Regions from separate parts of the Homo sapiens genome. Here regions 1, 2 and 4 are each linked to region 3. Evidence: promoter capture Hi-C in 16 types of primary human blood cells and fetal thymus (Javierre and others, 2016). All regions are on one chromosome and are shown on one strand. The core of a region is centred on a gene start or on the middle of the fragment in contact, and the rest is flanking DNA. Distances in the headings are between cores, read along the strand shown.

What was found. The method cuts DNA at HindIII sites, captures the fragments that hold promoters and counts their contacts. A CHiCAGO score of 5 or more calls a contact.
Region 1: a contact is called between a fragment that was not itself captured here and the fragment with the promoter of DCBLD2 in region 3, in 1 of 17 cell types (monocytes). The highest score is 5.1, in monocytes.
Region 2: a fragment that was not itself captured here is called in contact with the fragment with the promoter of DCBLD2 in region 3 in 2 of 17 cell types (fetal thymus and monocytes); the score reaches 9.3 in fetal thymus.
Region 4: a fragment that was not itself captured here is called in contact with the fragment with the promoter of DCBLD2 in region 3 in 2 of 17 cell types (monocytes and fetal thymus); the score reaches 5.6 in monocytes.

What each region holds. Positions count from the first base shown.
Region 1 is chr3:98,509,532-98,514,563 of GRCh38, forward strand. No RefSeq gene overlaps it. Among named protein-coding and RNA genes, the nearest start is that of CLDND1-AS1, 11 kb to the right of the region's middle. The HindIII fragment of the contact is 4,140 bases long and covers 1-3,783 here.
Region 2 is chr3:98,525,956-98,530,717 of GRCh38, forward strand. No RefSeq gene overlaps it. Among named protein-coding and RNA genes, the nearest start is that of GPR15, 3.6 kb to the right of the region's middle. RefSeq lists an enhancer at 2,410-2,953. The HindIII fragment of the contact is 4,844 bases long and covers 1-3,878 here.
Region 3 is chr3:98,898,747-98,903,681 of GRCh38, forward strand. It overlaps DCBLD2 (discoidin, CUB and LCCL domain containing 2), which reads right to left and starts at 2,949. Exons shown (of 16, transcript NM_080927.4): 1 at 2,376-2,949. The coding sequence starts at 2,580. LOC105374002 (a long non-coding RNA gene) reads left to right here and starts at 3,268. Exons shown (of 2, transcript NR_189121.1): 1 at 3,268-3,771. RefSeq lists enhancers at 1,848-2,564, 2,565-3,280 and silencers at 2,388-3,077, 3,218-3,267. The HindIII fragment of the contact is 5,361 bases long and covers 178-4,935 here.
Region 4 is chr3:98,576,238-98,580,754 of GRCh38, forward strand. It overlaps CPOX (coproporphyrinogen oxidase), which reads right to left. Exons shown (of 7, transcript NM_000097.7): 7 at 3,209-4,517. The coding sequence ends at 4,446. Among named protein-coding and RNA genes, the nearest start is that of CPOX, 15 kb to the right of the region's middle. The HindIII fragment of the contact is 1,823 bases long and covers 591-2,413 here.

The sequences.
Region 1 (5,032 bases), core at 464-2,963, 390 kb before region 3:
GGGAGTTTTAGGTGGAGGGTACAAGGCCTGGGGTAAATGGTTAAGATGACAAATTGGGTACTGCTGCTCTAAATTAGTCCTTGAGGGCTGCATTAGGGTATTCTAGAGGGACAGAACTAATAGGATAGATGTTTAAATAAAGGAGAGTTTAAGTATTGACCCACATGATCACAGGGTGAGGTCCCACAATAGGCCGTCTGCAAGCTGAGGAGCAAGGAAGGCAGTCCAAGTCCCAAAACCTTAAAAGTAGGGAAGCCAACAGTGCAGATTTCAGTCGGTGGTCAAAGGTCCAAGAGCCCCATAGCTGGAGAACTTGGAGTCCAATGTTCAAGGGCAGGAAGCACCCAACACAGGAGAAAGAGGGAAGCCAGAAGACTCAGTCAGTCTAGTCTTTCCACATTCTTCTGCTTGCTTTTTATTCTGGCTGTCCTGGTAGTTGATTCAATTGTGCCCACCCAGACTGAGGGTGGATGTGCCTCTCCCAGTCCACTGGCTCCAATGTTAATATCCTTTGGCAATACCCTCAAAGACACACCCAAGAACAATACTTTGCATCCTTCAATTCAATCAAGTTGACACTTAATATTAACCATTACAAGGGTGTTTTAGCATCAAGTGTTGGAACTCTCTCTAGAATTTTTTAGATAATGTCTTATCTTTCATATCTTTGAATCCTCCTTTGAGTCCATGGTAACAAGTGCCACTTGGCATCTTGTTAAGTGCTCATGAATAATATCCACCATTACTCAGCAGTGGAACCATGGTGTGGATCCCTGAAATCTACTTCCACCCTCAGAACTTAAAATGAACCATCCAAATCTAATTGGATTGCATGTTGTAGAGGCTGATTTCAGGAGCCTGCAAACAAGCTGCAGGAATCCAAGTTCTTCCACTTCCCTCAATGGACCTGAGTCCAATTTTAAACAACATAAAGACAGTGCTATGTTTTGAAAGTTTGCCCCTTCCAAAACACATGTCAAAATTCAATTGCCATTGTAACACTATTAGGAGGTGGGACCTTTGAGAGGTGATTAGGCCATGAGGGCTCCACCCTCATGGGTGGAATTGGTACAGTTTGGCCCACTCTCACCCTCTTTGCCCTTCTACTCTTCTCTCATGTGAGGAACAGTTTTCCTCTCCTCTGAAGCATGAAGCATGCAAAGTGTTGTCTTGGAATCAGAATTGCCAAATCTGCTGGCATCTTGGACTTTTCAGCCTCCAGAACCATTAAAAATAAATTTCTATTATTTATAAATTACTCAGTCTCAGGTATTCTGTTATAGAATCACAAATGGACTAATAGAAAGGTTTTTGATGCATTTATCTCGATTTACCAATAGCACAATCATTGAAAGGCCAAAAGTTCCACCCCACTGCTGTCCTACTTGAAAAAAAGGATTAAAATGTGAGTTTTAAAAGCAAAAATTCTTCCACCTTGAGAGGCTTGTATGGCTAAAAAGCCCATGTAATGAAGCCCTTTCTGTTTTGAAACAAACCTTTACTGGAAACAGAAGACTTCCCCAATAATGTAACACCAGCCCCAGTTCTAATCCCCATTGGAGTGTAGCCTTGTGGTAAACCCCAACAGCTCAGAGTCCCGCATGCCCTAGAGCTGGACCACACAGGGCAAGCAAAGGCTGCCTCCTTCCCGTGCACTGCATTAATGTCCAAATAATAGTACCAAACACTTTTTGAGCTCTTATGTTTTCAAAGGTGTTCTAAAAACTTGCACGTATACCTTCTTATTTAACCATCACAAAAACCTATTGAGGCAGATAATATCCCATTTTATAGATAATGCTATTATATGTTCATCCTCAGAATTTCTAGCTTGGGTAGAAGTTAACATCAATCACTCATGCATGCCTCCTTCCTTCCTAGTTCTAACCAAGAGTATGAACACAATGAACTGATAAGCAGACAGGGATAAGAATATTCACTTTCTTTATAGAGGCCTAATGACCTCAAATTACAGGGTCCCTGAAAGTACCGGATTAGAGAAAATAATTTGGAATTGAAGCCAAAACAAACAAGGCTTCCTATTACATCCTGCCAAATCTGAACCTGAGAACCAGGGGTGCACTGGATCTGCAGAGCAGACTCTTCATACGCATCTCCAACTATCAGAGGTGGGATGGATTGGGACCTGTCACAAAGAGCCAGTCAACAGAAGAGTGTGGAAAGCACAGTAGAGAAATGGCTTTTAGAAGGCAGACACCAAGCCAGGTCTGTTTACTCCACAGCCCACTCTTTCATAATCTGCCTAGGAGAGAGAGAATCCTATTTCTTGCGTTTAAACATAGCTTTCAAATATAACTGCCCATTGGAATCACTTGGAAAGGTTTTAAAAATTTCAATGACCCGACCATAGCCCAGGCCAACTAAATCAGATTCTCTGGAATGAAAACATTTAAGTTCTCCAGGAAATTCCAATGTGCAGCCTAGGCTAAGAGCCACCACTTTATAGGCTTGGCAACCCCTCACAATGCAGCCAGTCATAACTAGCAGTTTTTGAGCGACTACTTTATGCTAAGCAATTTACATAATCCTCATCACAACTCTAAGAGACATATGATAATCAAAGCATTTCACAGATGGGAAAAGCGGTGTTTGGAAAAAGGCTAAGAGACAAAAGATAGACCTGGGATTACAAAGCTCGCATTCTGTCTCCCAAGCTAAATACTTAACCACCATATACCATGCTGCTCCTTGTGGATGCCCTGATTCCAGCAATCTCTCCAACCAGATAATACATTCTTCTTTTATATAGAGAAGCAAATAAGGCTGGGAGATACTACAAGAGTTGACTCCAGTATTCCCTTCTAAAAGAGAGCATAAACTCCTTCCATGGAAGTTAAGCAGGAAGAATAAAGGTTTCCAACAACTAACATTTGTAGAGACTTGGAAAATGTGTGGCAGGGTGTTAAAAGATCAATAATTAGAGATGCTTAGAATTATAAAGCAGTTGAAGTCAAACAGCATACTTTTTTATAGAATCAACTTAGTAGTTCTGAACAGCCATCCTTGATATCTTAAGATTAAGAAAACTGGACAGCACAGTCTATGAAGATAGGGCTAAGGATTGCGAAGGGAGGTGTCATAGGAAATTATGGGAGCAAGAGAACCAAAGATGTTTGTGAACATACAATGACAATACAAGCTAAGGGGGGAAAGAAACGAACAAAATGCGGAAGACTGGGAGGGGCTGAAAGGCTGCAGGGCAGGTGAGGTAAAGCTCACATACTGAGACACTAACACTGGACCAGTAAAGATGACACATTACTTAGTAACTCAGATATTTTAAAAGGTGTACGGCAGAAAGAAAATTCTCATTTCACATTTCTAAACCTTTGCAAATATACAAAGTAATATAAATTGGATCTTGCTTTTATAGAAGTTTGCTGAAAGTATGTAAATGTTTATATGTCAAATAATGTATATTTGTATACACGTAATGCTAGTAATAGAAATTCTGGCACTGAAGAGAATGTAATCACTCTATGGTAACTTCTTCTATAGGGCAAATAATTGTTACTCTTTTTACAATTGAGCATTTTCACATCATGAATTTGCAGGATGATGGCATGTAATTTGGCCCCAGGGAAAAATGTATCTTATTACGATGGAGTATAAGAACACCTGATGAGCAGTAGAAAAATAATTTAGATCCGTTTCCTTGTTTATTCCTCACTTTTCAAGGTATGAATCACTGTTCCCTTTGAGAAGAGTGCTGAAAGGAGGACAAAAGCCTCCACCCATCTGTGCCAGGACACAGCTGCATCAAGCTTGTGAAATAACAATTTGCATCTTCAGAGCTGCACCCATTAACTGCTCTTTTAGCTGCTAGAGAATTTCAGAAAGTTTTGCAATCAGGCCGTGTGCAGTGGCTCACGCCTGTCATCCCAGCACTTTGGGAGGCCAAGGTGGGTGAGTCACTTGAGGTCAGGAGTTTGAGACCAGCCTAGCCAACATGGTGAAACCCCATCTCTACTAAAAATACAAAAGTTGCTGGGCATGGTGGCACACACCTGTAATCCCAGCTACTCCGTAGGCTGAGGCAGGAGAATCCCTTGAACCCAGGAGGCGGAGGTTGCAGTGAGCCAAGATTGGGCCACTGCACTCCAACCTGGGTGACGGAGTGAGACTCCATTTCACAAAAAAGAAAGTTTTTCAATCAGCAAAATTAGGTTAACAGGTTTTCATTTTTGGTGAAAGTTTATATGAAGGCTAAGTATTAAAATGGCCCGATCTATATATGTTATAGTCAATTGAACATGACAGGGTCTATAGGTTTTAACTGTGCTAGTCTGCAATTTGGTGATGTTTCTGGAATGGAAAAACAAACTAAATTGATATGGTTTGTGGTCATCTCATTCTTCTCAAATCATATGACTAAATGAGTTCACCTAGGAGTGATTGTCAACCCTATCCTCTCCCTTAACGCACGTGTGCATGTGCACACACACAACTACAGCAGGTAAAATTTTAACACATTCCCATTAGATTATAAATTTGAAATCCTAGTGTAATATGATGCAGACAGAAGGCACACTGTTATCTGAATAAATTCTAGAATTCCTTTTTTGTTGTTGTTGTTGTTGTGCCAAATTGTGTTTTATGGCTATACTTAATAAATTTTGAAATGAGTCTTTTGCTAAAAATCATAGAGGATATTTACCCACATCATTTAGTTAGGAGCTATAAAATCAAAGTCTTAAAACACATTTGTTAAACTGCCACAAAATTCATTCTGAGGCCGGGTATGGTGGCCCATGCCTGTAATCCCAGCACTTTGAGAGGCCGAGGCGGGCGGATCGCCTGAGGTCGAGAGTTCAAGGCCAGCCTGGCCGACATGGGGAAACCCCATCTCTACTAAAAATACAAAATTAGCTGGGCATGGTGGTGCATGACTGTAATCCCAGCTACTCGGGAGGCTGAGGTAGGAGAATCGCTTGAACCCAGGAGGCAAAGGTTGTGATGAGCCAAGATCGCACCATTGCACTCAGCCTGGGCAACAAGAGTGAAACTCCAC
Region 2 (4,762 bases), core at 207-2,706, 370 kb before region 3:
ATATGAAAGATGATTTTGTGCAACCATGTAGAGATTATGGAATTTAGGTTTAAAAGCGAAGTTAAATGAGACATCTAGCTTAACTTGTTAAAGATGGTTCTAGTTTCAACCGGAAGGCATTATAGTTATAGCACATTTAAAATAAAACCGATAACTGAAAATCTAGATACTCAGATGTTGTAACTTGTTTTTATTATGTACTTATGAAACAACCCTTCACACTAGAATTTCCATCAATACTAAATTCCCCAATACATTTAATATTTTATTTTTAATTGCACATTTTTAGGAACTAAAAGTTATATCTACATTATAAGATATATTTACATTATGTTTCTTCATGTAATTTTTTTTCTGGTTGTTTCCCTTGTGAACTTTGGAGTTCAGAAAGGAAAAAAATGGGAATATGTACAATTCTGGGTTCCAACCAAAAACCATTTTTAAAAATGTACCTATCTTTGAATTTCCTTGCACCCATTCACTGTAGAACAATAACAGAATCAAGATCAAGGCAAATAGAAAAGTGCACCTAAAATGTCTCCTTTTTTTTTTTAGTAATTCCTGTAAAGTGCCACATATAGTAAAAAACTATAATTTTTAGATGCCCATGCTTCTGAAAGACAGTGAATGACCCATATGTAAATGAGAAGTTTAAGTTTAAATTATCCTTTATTTAAAAATTATCAATGGATCTTTGGTTAATGACCCCTTTCTGGACCCTAGGGTCCTCTTTAGTAAAACAGTTGTACTAATGATCATTAACACCACTTGAAGCTCTAAAATTTTACAGTTTATAATTCTACTGGAAGAAGAATAATGCAACTACAAAATACGGTTTTTCATAGATCCACAGCATTAGAGTTTCATTGCAGAATTTATATACCCTATACCTCAAGCCTAGGCAATGTACTAGAAGCAGAGATAGTGGCAAATGTAGATTGCAAAGGAAAAGGAGGAAGACTATATGCATTCTGATTAGAAAAGGTACCGAAAAACAGCCCTTGCTATTTCAAAGATTAACAGTAATTATGAAGGTAAAATTATGGAAGGAAACTTTTCTGATTTCTTCTAATTGACACTTATTAGTATAGAGTTATGAGTATGAATTGTGGGCCTCCCAAAAATAACTTTTCAAAAAAAAATCTTATTGCAGATAAGAAACTAATATAATCAATTAATTTAATTATTAATAAACTTAAGAGTCTTCATTGAGAGAGTCCTCTTCTCATCACTATCCGTCATACTTATTATGAGGCCATGATAATGATATTTTTCACATTTATTGGTTTGCAAGTTGCTTCTGATTCAACAAGATGTGCCAAGTGAAAACATAAGCATAAGTTGACAAAAAATGTGCTGCATTAACTTAGAAACATCTCTTCATATTAGTTTATGATGTGACAAAGATCCCAGGACTGAATAGAAAATGGAAGCTGTCTAAGAAGTTTGTGAAAAGTCCCTACTCTGCGGAAATAACTCAAAATTCAAGCATGATTCATCCCAGATCTATAATCATTTATTGACCATCTATTGCTTGCCAGACACTCTGCTGGATGCCAAGGACACCAACATAAATAAACATAATTTTTGTTATGCACAACCTAAATTCAGATTAAATCTGCTATTTCGAAGAAATCTAAAGTATATATTCCTAGAATAGTAACATCATTTCTATCTATATATTAGTTACCAATGGAAATAAGCCAGTAAATTAAGTGGGGGGCCCTCATAATAATGAATACGTGCCACTTAGTTTGGCATGATGTGATATTACATTATATAGTACTAAATTCTCCAAGTAACTGAGAATTTAAAAATAAAAATAAACTCCTAGAGTATAAACAGTATAATCGTTTTTCTTAAACTTAACTATTTGACTTTGCACTTTAAGAAATGGACAAGATAATGTATCTAACAAGTGAATATATAATGACACCGTTTGACTGATGAGATTAATGAGAAATAATTAGTTGCTTCATGCTCTTTGCCATTTATTCTGGGACATATCAGCAGAGCATGTGTGAATCAAAGGCTTCGTATCCAGGGATTTCTTTCTTCTGTGCTATATGCATGTAATCTGATGAGTCTCCACCTGATATGGTGGTTGACAGGGAAGAGGCCGAAGTAATATAATCATAAGTTCAATAAGCCTAATAGGGGTGGCTCTATTATTAAATCTTCAGCCTGCTTGTGAAGCAGAGGCTGCAAGCCACAGCAAATAATAATGGATTCACTCAAGCAGATGTTTCAGTAGAGAAAACCTTTCTCTGTCTTCATCTTCAACACCTGAACCAGTTCTGAGCATAACTCAGGAATTGGAACATAGAATAAGCAGGGCCTAGAAATCTAAATTAATTCCTCAAATTTTGTGATATTCAGACTAAAAGACTTCCACAAATTTCAAATTCTGAGGTAACTTTTAAGCCTTTTTTAAAAATTAGTCAAAATAATAACAAAGCATAATATATAATGTTGGTTAACTTATATAAATTAGAACAGTGATTCTAAACTTTAGTGTGTATAAGAATCACCTCGAATGCTTGTTAAATATAAAGTCCTAGACTTCTTCCCCAATGATTCTGACTGAGGACATCTAGAATAGGGTCTGGCAATCTACAGCTCAGCAGGTGTCCCTGATGACTCTAATCTGGGTAAAACGATCTGGCATCCACAGGTTCAAAACAATGGCTTTAAGAGTCCTAAAAGAACTTTAGTTGGGTAACTTCTGTATGCTAGAGGCCAGTCCAGAGATAATGAATGGACTCTGTCTTCAGGTTGCTCATTATCAGCTCCAGGGGTCAGATACAAAGACAACTAACAGTGTGAAAAGAGACAAGTACTTTGTAACCAGTATTTTTAAAGTTCTTAGGAAATACAAAGGAAGAAGCAGTTATTTCTGCCAGGAGTCATGGAGGAAAGTTGAGTGTTATTTTCTGAGAAAAAGAATTCCAAAGATGTGGCATATATGCTCTAATTCAGTTACTAATACTTATATATTATTCTTTTTTTTTTTGCCATCATTCTGTTTACATTGACTTTTCATATGTTTATGGAACCCAGTGTTGCTTTTGAGTTTTGATCTATGTGTAGGTTTCTATTTTATTGTTAGTATCTTCATGTTTATTTTAAAGAAAACTCAAAGTCCTAAAATTGACCGTTGCACCAGCTTATTTACAACCCCACTTTAGCCAGCTTTATTGTGGATTCTGTCTTGTACTAGCATTGTACTCTGAGGTACTAAAAGACTGGCACTATGCTATGTGAACGTTTTTGGCTTAAAACATTTAATTTGTTTTCTGATTTGGGTACAAAGATGCTGTTGATCCAAGGTGGGTATTCTCACATTGTAACATTCTACCATTAAATATCATACTTCAAGGTGGCCACATAATGATAAAGCAAACTATTTTATCTACAACTGCTTCAATAGTTTGCTGAGGAAATTGGATTTGAGATAGTTTACATCAGCGGTCCAGCAACTTTTGAAATTTGAAAAAAAAAATTTAAGGGATACAGAATGAATGTGCAGCCAAATATTTTCCTCTACAGTATGAGCATGAACTCTTTTTCCATTTTATAATACCTTTATGTTGAATTCTTGAGACATATCAAAGGATTAAAAAAAAGAAGAAAAACCGTAGACCCAGAATCAACCTTATTTTCTCAAATGCCAAAAGAACTTATGATTGTAGGGTACAAAATTCTAATATTAAAATTTCAGTACACTTAAAGAATATATATGATTAGTACTTTAACACACAGGCACACAGATATAGATGATATGTTTAAATATTCTATATTACCCTATTAATCTTTTTTGAGTAAATATTGTCCTACTTCAATTTTTGACAAAATGAATTATTCTATTAAATAATTAAAGCTTACCCAGTGGGAAAGATTTCTGTCCCAGAAATGTCAAAGCGGTTAATTAGTTTCTCTGATCTGTAGTCTATATTTAGTAAAGAATATGCCCTCCATGAAATTAAATGAATTGCGCACAGCAGCCAGGGACACAGGAGAAGGCAGGCTCAGGCCCACAAATCAACTCCAGAGTGACTTCTGGGACTGTCCCAGGTCAGAGGAGCCTTTATCCTTCCCTGACCTCAGCTTACTTGCCTAAGACTCAGGTGACACTAGACCATATCAGGAGGAAGAGGGAAGGAGGAAGTACAACCGGCAGGATGATTCTTTTTAATATACTAATTACTGAAGAAATAACAATTCAGTAGGGCCAGGCTTGGTGGCCCATGCCTGTAATCCCAGCATTCTGGGAAGCCAAGGCGGATAGATTGCTCGAGCTCAGGGGTTCCTGACCAGCCTGGGCAACATGGCGAAAACCCGTCTCTACAAAGAATACAAAAATTAGTCGGGCATGGTGGTGCATGCCTGTAGTCTTAGCTAGTCAGGAGGCTGGGGTGGGAGGATTGCATGGGCCTGGCAGTGAGCTGTGTTCAAGACACTGCACTCCAGCCTGGGTGACAAAGTGAGACCCTAGTGAGACCCTGTCTCAAAAATTAAACAAACAAACAAATGAAAAAACAACTTAAGAAAGGACTTCAAATGTTTAATGACTATATTTTCATCTACAAACATACATTTTTCTATGAATAGCAATATCAACCTGAAACTAGAATTCTGAAGATTAAATCAGATAGGAGAGAAGAATAGTGCAAGAGAGCCTTGAGTCACTTTGACCAGTAAAGAGCTGAAATAAATGGAGTCCGTTTCAAAATGTGTTATATTTTACTATGGTCATCATAAT
Region 3 (4,935 bases), core at 1,699-4,198:
AAAGGAATTCCACCACGGGCTGCTTTAGGGTCCTTTGAGTAAAAAATTTAATTTTTAAAAATGAGAAAATTCAAATCTCAAATAATTGTGAGTTTTCAGATGATGTATACCTAATTAGCTCTTAATTTATCAACTTAGTAAGATCGAGATTAGTAATAATCATTTATAGCTATTTTAAGCTTTTCCCTTTGCAAAATTCCTGCATACTATCATTTCATTTATATTAAGCTATGAGATAGGTATGCATGCTCACCTTAATGATGTAGAAAACTGAGGTACAAAGAGATTAAATATTAAATGATTTAGCAAAATTTACCCAAGCAATTTAGAAGAACTAAAAAAAAAAAAAGTCTTTTAATTATCAGAATCATTTCTATTTATGTTGATGTTTACATAAGATGACACTGTTAAAGAGAAATGTATTTGTTAAAATGTTCTGGTAAAAAAAAATTATATTAAACCTTAAAAAATGAAGTAATGTTGCTTGTCTGATTAGACTGGCTATTTCTTTTTCTTTTTTTTTTTTTTTTTTTGAGACAGTCTCGCTCTGTCGCCAGGCTGGAGTGCAGTGGCGCGATCGCTGCAACCTCCGCCTCCCGGGTTCAAGCGATTCCCCTGCCTCAGCCTCCTGAGTACCTGGGACTACAGGCATGTGCCACCATGCCCGGCTAATTTTTTGTATTTTAGGAGAGACGGGGTTTCACCATGTTGGTCAGGATGGTCTCGATCTCCTGACCTCGTGATCTGCCCGCCTCAGCCTCCCAAAGTGCTCGGATTACAGGTGTGAGCCACCGCGCCCGGTAGACTGGCCTTTTCTAAAAACAAGGCAATCCCTCATTTGGAAGGTAGACATGTAACTGATTCTATACTGTTCCAAGATTTTTTTTAATAACATGATACAAACACTATCAGATCCAGAAACAAGCAAAGCAGAGTACTCTGCCTATGGAGTAATATGCCCTCCTGCATCAAGGTACCTTATATTCTTTGTGTCTCAATGTCCTTACGTTTGAACTGGGATAACAATAACTATCTCAGCTGATTGTAGTGAAGATTCAAGGAGTTAATAAACCCAAACCACTTAGTCCAGTTGTTCCAGCCACAAAGTAAGCCCTAAGTGTTAGCCATATATAAGCCTGTTTTCCCCCCTACCAGGAGGGAAATACATCTCTACAGTGGAAAGAAGGATTTCACACTTTAATATATTAAATGATGATGATGTTCAGTAATTTTAGAAGACGATCTAACTAAAACCTAAATGCTAAGCATCTAAATTTTGAGTTACTCTATATAGAAACGTGTCTAGATGTAAGGGGTCAGTTTGCCAAATACATTTTTTCCTTATAGTTACAGAGATTATATTTCCACATGCCTGTCAAGGTTCGGCATCTTCTTAATGACAGGCCATGATTCCATACTTCACTGAAAACCATGAGAGCAACATAAAGCTGGGCTTAAAGGCAGAGAACAATTTTCTTTTTAAAAAACTCTCTTCCTAGCAATAAGTAACAATCCAATCCTTATCCTTCCCACTGCAATAAAATGGAAAATGCAATGGAAATATCTTTTCAAAAACTGATGCCAAACTGATTCAAAAAGTGTGGTACACTACGGGAAAACAGTACTAAAGGGGAAAAGAAATCACCCTGCATTCTCCTTCCATTATGATAAGTATTTAATAAACAGTTTTGCCTGTTTCTGGAACAGGTTTTTCAAGGATTGTAGGTGGAAAAAAAAAAAAGTTTTGTCACTTTCTGGAAAGGCTTACCTTTTTAATGTGGAGAGCTTCACTTGGGCAAATTAGCATAGCGTTGGGTCAGACCCAGTGTTTGACCAAGGCAGTCTAGACCACCAGCCTCAATGATGGATTGTAAAGAACATGTTCTGAATCCAAGACTCAGAGATAAGCAGAAACTATTCCATTCGCTTCAGAACCCGGGCTCTTTCACAAAGGATCATAATTACCACCACTTACCTTTAATAGGCTTAAGATGCTATTTAATTAACCTGCCTTCCTACAGTGTCCATCCATCCGTGCAGCTTAACTTTAGGGGTCATTACCTCCAAAGGTTCTTTTTCCTCCCCAAAATTTTCCCCAGAAGGACCTAATATCAACGAGGCTTTCATAGCAGGGTCTCACGTCCCCCTTTCAGAAAAATAAATGGCCTTGCCAAAAAGTAAAGCCGCGCCAACTTGGGGGACAGACGGGCAAGACCTTGCCTTTGCAACTCAACCCCGTGAGTACCCAGCCAGGTCCGGCCACGCACGAAAGCGCACCGCGCCTCCCTGCAGCGTCTGCAGATTTGTTCAGGGGCCAAGAGACCCGCAGCCCCGACGGAGGTTCCCCCGCCGCTCACTCCCCTGGGACCACTCACCTTGCTGGGCTCCAGCGTCCTCGAGCAGCAGGAGCAGGACAAGTAAGAGCAGGAGGAACAGAGGCATGGAGAAGGAGGAGGAGTTGGAGCAGGGAGGGAGGGAGCGGGAGAGGGGGAGCGCGGCCCAGGCGGGGGCGGCGGCCGCGGCCCGGACTTGGGGACACTGCGGGCAGCGCCTGGCTCTCACCACCGCCCGGCTCGCCATCGCGGCGGCCGGCAGTCTGCCTGCATAGTGCGGGTGCCTCGGCAGCCCCGCGCGCCTCTGGCCGCGGCACCCGACCAGGAGACGGCGGCAGCGGCGGGAGAACAAGAGGCAGCCCTCGCCTCACCCCGCGCCGGGACCCTTCCGCCCCTCACCCCGCTTTCACCTACTCCTCCTTCGTCCCTTCCCTCCGCTCCCCGCGCCGAGACCCCAGGCCGGAGCGCAGGGGAGGGGAGGGAAGGAAGCGGAGTCCTCGAGCCGCGGAGGACGGCCGCGGCGGAGCTAAGGAACGTGCCTCCCGCGCCGCGCTCCTCACCAGGGTCGCCGCTCGCCGCGCTCACCCGCGGCTCCGGCTAGCTGGCAGGCAGGCCCGCAGCCAGCTCCCTCGCGCTCCCTCTCGCGCGCGCCGGCCACGCCCCCTAGGCACCGCGGCCAATCCTCGGCCAGCTCTGGTCCGTCTCCTTCCGCGAAACCCAATCAGCATGCTCGCTCCTCGCTCGACCCGCTAGTTCTCCGGCCCATTCCTCGAGCTCCACCGCCCCTTACCTCCCTCTTCCAATCCCCTTCGGCCTTTGGAGGCGTCCCACCCGCCTCCTCCAATCCAGGTCCCGCCCTCCAGCTTCGGATCCCCGCGGCCCCCGCCCGGCCCGGGCGCCTGTTATTGTTGGGCCCTCAGCCCAAACTGATCCCGCAGAGGCGGCAGCCAGCTCGTCAGTGACTTCCGGGACGTCCCCCATCCCGCGCTCCCTGCTCCTCAGGCCCAGCTTGCTCCTTGCTCCTTTCTCCTCGCTCCTCCGACGCACATCAGACCACTGGAAGGGGGTGGGAAACCTGGATCCTGGGTTGTTTTAGCTGGGAGCTGAGTCTAAGGGACTTTTTTTTTTTTTTTAATGGCAGAGCGTGGCTTGTTTTGTTAAAACTGCCGCCAGTTGTTGCAACAGCTCCGAGTTAGAATAATAGATGCAGTGTTCAGTTTTTAATATATGTGTTCCCTGTTTTCTCTGCTCTTTTTATGGCGGGGGGTGGGGGACAAAAAAGTGTAAAACAAGATCCGTGCCGCAAAGGCAATTTAAACCTAACATCCCAACCTTCATGCAGCCATTCTACAAGGAGTTGTTGAGCACCTGCTGTCTATCTACAGAAATCTTGAAATGTGGAACAGAGATGGAAATATAGCATGCAAGTCAGAATGAAGTAAGTGCTAATTAGAGTCACAAGCAGTTTGATGGAGACTGTAAGCCTATGGAACGACAAAAAGAATTTTAGGAAAGAGGAATGCAGAGGTCTACGCAGTGATTTATTTTAGAAGAGAGTGGCCATGTAGGATGTTTTTAACAGCAGTCCCTGAAAGGACAATGGTGTCATTAGCAAATACAAAAAACTGCTAAGGTGGAACAAGTTGTGTGGGAAAGTAAGTTAATTTTGGACGTATTGAATTTGAGATGCCAACTTAGATAATAAGTGAAGCTATGTAACAGGCAGATGGATATTTTAGTCGAAAGCTCAGATTGAGAGCTTTGAAATTATGGCTCTGGGAGTCATACATAGCCATACATGTATACATATACATATGTATACATAGTCATACATAGATGTGATATTCAAAAACATGGAAGGGACTGATATCCTTCAATGAAAGTCTAAGTTGGAAAGGACTTTGGAGGTCGTATGTTTCAACTCCCCTGCATATTTCTTATACAATAATCTCTTTAACCAAATTTATTCAATTAACATTTATTAAATGCCTAAGAAACCCTATTATGCTCTAAGCCATTGTGGGCATTGGGCATAAAAAGTTTACTGAGAAGAACTTACATTCTGGAGGAGGAGGTGACATGTAAACAAACCTATTGTTATTAGTGCCCTGTTAGAGGTGTGGACTGGTGCCACAATACCACAGTGAACGGAGTTCAAAAAAACCCGTCAGTTTGAAATGCCAGTGTCTTGAATAAGAAACTAAAGTGAAAAAGGTGATCTCAGGCCAGAGGCAAAATAGGCTGGGTCACAGGCTCAATAGGGAATGGTGTTGATGGAGCTGGATTGACTACTGCTGACGTAATGGGAGGAACTGGAGACTAGTCTGGAAAAGTTAGGAGGGGCAAGATGTAAGGCAAGCTAAGAGTCAAGATTTTATTTTGTATCACTGGAAAATAACTAAAGGGTTCTAAGAAAGAATGACATTGTCAGTTTTTTTTTTGTTTTTGTTTTTGTTTTTGTTTTTTTTGAGATGGAGTTTTGCTCTTGTTGCCCAGGCTGGAGTGCAATGGCATGATCTCGGCTCACTGCAACCTCTGCCTCCCGGGTTCAAGCGATTCTCCTGCCTCAGTCTCCCTAGTAGCTGGGATTACAGGCATGTGC
Region 4 (4,517 bases), core at 252-2,751, 320 kb before region 3:
TACAATCATGGCAGAAGGCAAAAGGGAAGCAAGGCACCTTCTTCACAAGGCAGCAGGAAGGAGAAGTGCTGAGCAAAGAAGGGAAGAGCACCTTATAAAATTATCAGATCCTGTGAGAACTCACTCACTACCACGAGAACAGCACGGGGATGGTTTACCCTCATGACTCAATTACCTCCACCTGGTCTCTCCCTTGACACCTGGGGATTTGGGGGATTACAATTCCAGGTGAGATTTGGGTGGGGACACAAACCCTAACCATATCAGTGAGGTTTTATGTTGTACAACTTATGACTTGATTTCAGGTAACAATACAAGGGAATTTAGTCAAGCCATTTACAAATGTCTAAGCGTCACTAACTTAAATGTGCTAATTTAGGTTTATTATGAAATTGGATTGTTATGTGTTTCTTTGGGAAGAAAGATGAAATTTTAAAATGTGAGATTTCAAATACATAATTCATACTTGTGGCAGGGATAATACAATACATCCTTGAAAACAATTTCTAAATGGGCTTTTAGAGATACTGGGAACTTCTGTTTTCACAGACTAGGAATAAGACAGTTATACAGACAACTAAACAACACTAAGCTTGATACTACGATATATTGCAAAACAGTGTTGGAAAACAAAGGTTAACACATCATTCATTAGGTAGCAGGTACTATAAATAAGGAAAGATCCACCTTCAATATTTTGTAATAAGTGGGATGTGGATTGAATGACTGTAAATGGAATATGTTGACAGCAATACTAAAAGTAAAATGTGTTGAAAGGGTAGAAGAGATTGACTCCAAGGAAGGTTTCTTGAAGAAGATTTAAAATGGGCATGGAAGGATGAGCGGGCACATAAGACATTCCAAGCAGAGATAGCAGCAGCCTGAGAAAAGGCCAGAGGGGATATAATTTGGGGGAAGTTCAGGAAAAGTGGTGAGTGGTGAGTATATGGTCTGAGACTGAAGTGCACAGAGAAATGTAGAAGATAAGCCTGAAACACGAGGTAGGAGTTAAATGGTGGATTGCTTGAATGTCAGACTGACTTTAGAATTCTGTCTGGAGAGGAGATTCTTTGACTATTTCAGCAGGGTGGTGATAATGGGACCTAGGAAAATAATTCTGAAGAGAGGGAAAGGTCAGAGTGCCCAGAGGCAGGGAGAGCATTGCAAAAGTTCAGATGAGAAAGTATGTGAGACTAAAGTAGGGTGGTGGCAAAGGGCAGAGGAAGGAAACCAGGAGCCATTTCAAAGGGGGACTCAACAGGAACTAATTAGGGCAATGTGGAGGGTTGAGTCCAATCTATTTCGTGGTTTTGAGTGTGGAAGGCTGTGTGGAGGTTTTGAAGATGACTGGGATCTAATTCCCTACCACTCGAATCTGGAACTGTCCTTAATGACAGACTTGTCAGGAGTCCAGTGGAATGTGAAGAAAGTGACACTACATAACCTCAGTGGTTAGAACAGAAAACCACCATACTGCCTTTGCCTTTTTCCATGGAATTCGTGCTCTGAGCCACCCATAGGCAATGCAGCCTGCAGTCCAAGATGAGCTGAGCCTTTGAGTCATCCTCACCTATGTACAGACATGCAAGTCAAAAACCTGCAGAAGATTCCTGTCTCTAAATATTGTAACAGCAAAAGACACATGGAAGGATAAGTCATAAAGAAACATTTGGCTTTTCAAATCTTGTACTCCTTAGCGTGCAGAAGCACTTATCTCAAATACTCTGCTGACTAGGAGGGTCAGCAGAGTACAGTGATGAACAGAAAATAGTGGTTAAAAATTTGCTCCAGAGAATTGACATTTCTCCCCTCCAGACACCCTTTATTACCATGAACCTGCATGCATAAGACAGTTAGGTGTTCAGGCCATCTGGAGGTGCACTGTGGTCTTCAGGTAGACTGAATTAACACCAGTAAGAAATTGAAAGAGAAATTCACTTTGAATAACAGTAGGATAATCTGTTTTCCAGTAGTTATGCAATTCTTTTCAGACATAGTCTAATCCATAGTAGAAATACGTGGTTATTGAAGAACTGAAAACAAATGCACAGAAAAATTTTATCTTCATTTACCCGCCACAGCTTTAAACACAACTAAATAGGCTAGCATTTTAGCATTATATCATCACTATGTAGTGATTTTCTATTTTTTAAAAGCTAAACTGAGGTTGATCTGAACATTTGTTCCTATATGCCTATATTTTTCCTAGTATTAGATTTATTGAAGTATTATTCACATATACAATAAAATTCCATTTTAAGTTCAGTGAATTTTGATAAATGTATATACAGTCTAGTAACCATCACAATCAAGATGTAAAACATTTAAATCACCTCAAAATACTCTTTTGTCCCCTTTCACAAATCTGCATCCCCTAACCCCTGCCATCCATTGATCTGCTTTCTGTCATTAAAGCTTTGCTTTTTCTAGGTTTTCCTATAATGTAGTCATATAGTAAGTACTTTTATGTGTGGCTTTCACTTGGCATAATGTTTCTGATGTTCACCCATGTTACTGTCATTAGCAATAGTTATTCCTTTTCATTGCTTAGTATTTTAATATACGCATATATCACAAGTTGTTTATCTGCTCACCTGCTGTTAGCCATTTGGGTTGTTTCTAATTTTCAACTATTGAATAAAGCTGCTATGAAAATTGAGTACAAAACTTGTATTTTTCTTGAGTAAAATACCTAGGAATGAGGAACTATGGCATTAGCATAGCTGAGCCTTGAACAACACAGGTTTGAAGAGTTTTGCTTCTTCGCAGATTTTCTTCCACCTCTGCCACCCTTGAGAGAGCAAGACCTACTCTTCCTCTTACTACTCCCACTAAGCCTACCCAACATGAAAACAATGAGGATGAAGACCTTTACGATGATTCACTTCCACCTAATGAATAGCAAATATATCTTCTTTCTTACGATTTCCTTAATAACATTTTCATTTCTTTAGCTTGTAAGAAGAGTATATAATACATATAACATAAAACATGTGCGAATTGACTATGTTATTGGTCAGGCTACCAGTCAACAGGAGGCTATTAGTGATTAAGTTTTGGGAGAGTCAAAAGTTATACAAGGATTTGAAACTGCATGCAGTAAGGAGGAGTTGGGGCCCCTAGCCCTAATGTTGTTCAAGGATCAACTGTACTAAGAAATATATGCGTTTTCCTATATTATCCTGGCAACAAAAAATATAAATATTTCTTAGTCTTATTTAATAATAAAATTTATTAGCAGATCTCTTGTAAGACAGTTGAAGAATTCATACATTTTCCAGCCCCAAAAAGGCCACACAGAATCACAAACATTCAACGTGTTCCACGATAATGATATGTATGAGATGCTCTTCCTTATAAACTTTATTACGAAGCAAATAAAATAATACATTCATAATATATGAACAAAGAAATCATACATTAAGAATCCTGTTGTGATTTGCTCTTAAGAGCAAAGAGCTGCAGAATCTCTAATATAAAAAAGAGGACATTTTCAATGTGTCCATTTTCCTAAGAAACGTGTGTATGAAATGCCTCCAAGTTTCTCATACTATATATACTTGCTTTAAAGAAGGAAATTATTTCTCATTTCATTTTCCAAATGAGAAACATTGCCTAAATTCATGACATCCCTAGGATTATTCTTAGTCTCAACTTCCACACAGAGATGTCTGAAATAGAAAACTCTTAAGTATCAGAATTCAGGGATATAAGCTTTCACATTCAAAAGTGCAGAGAATCCCAACATTAACAAACAATGGTTCCACAAAAATCAAAATTACAACTTAGACATCTCTAAAATAATAGTAATGTCACTTTAGAGTTTACAAACTACAGAAATAACTGAATTGTAACACATGCAGAGATTATTTCAAGTGCTTCTAAATACCTATTAGAAAAATGTGTATCTATTTGACAATATTATGTTCTCTGGAGAAAGATATATAAGGATTACAGCAGAGACTTCAGTATTGACAAAGTAAAATTTTTACCTTCAAGTTGCATTCTAAAATTACTATGAAGTCTCAACTTCACTGAATTAATGAAAATAAAATATATTCCACGACAGATTTTTGTGGCACAAATGAAAACTTTAAAAAATACATGAAACAAAAACAAGATGAGAGATTTCCTGATACATATAATACTATTTATATTCCCTTATCTCAATACTTGGAAACTCAATGTCCTATTTTGTAAACTAGTCATATAAAATGACACTAGAAGTATAAATGAGGTTTAATCAATTGACTCTGACAATCTGCCATCTCACCATTCATCACTGACAGCATCCAAAACATGTTATCATCTGCCCACGAGGTAGGGTGCAGAGTGGAGAAGACTAAGGCACGGGTAACTGCCACACAGTGGCAAAGTGCCGACCAGTGGCATGGGGAGCACACATCGTGTGCCCTCCAAACCCCTGCACAGCCATTCTGCCTGCATCAACGCACCCAGTCCCTTGGATGGCGTAGAACTTCCAGAATTTCAGCTTCTTTGGAATTCTCTGAGGGTGA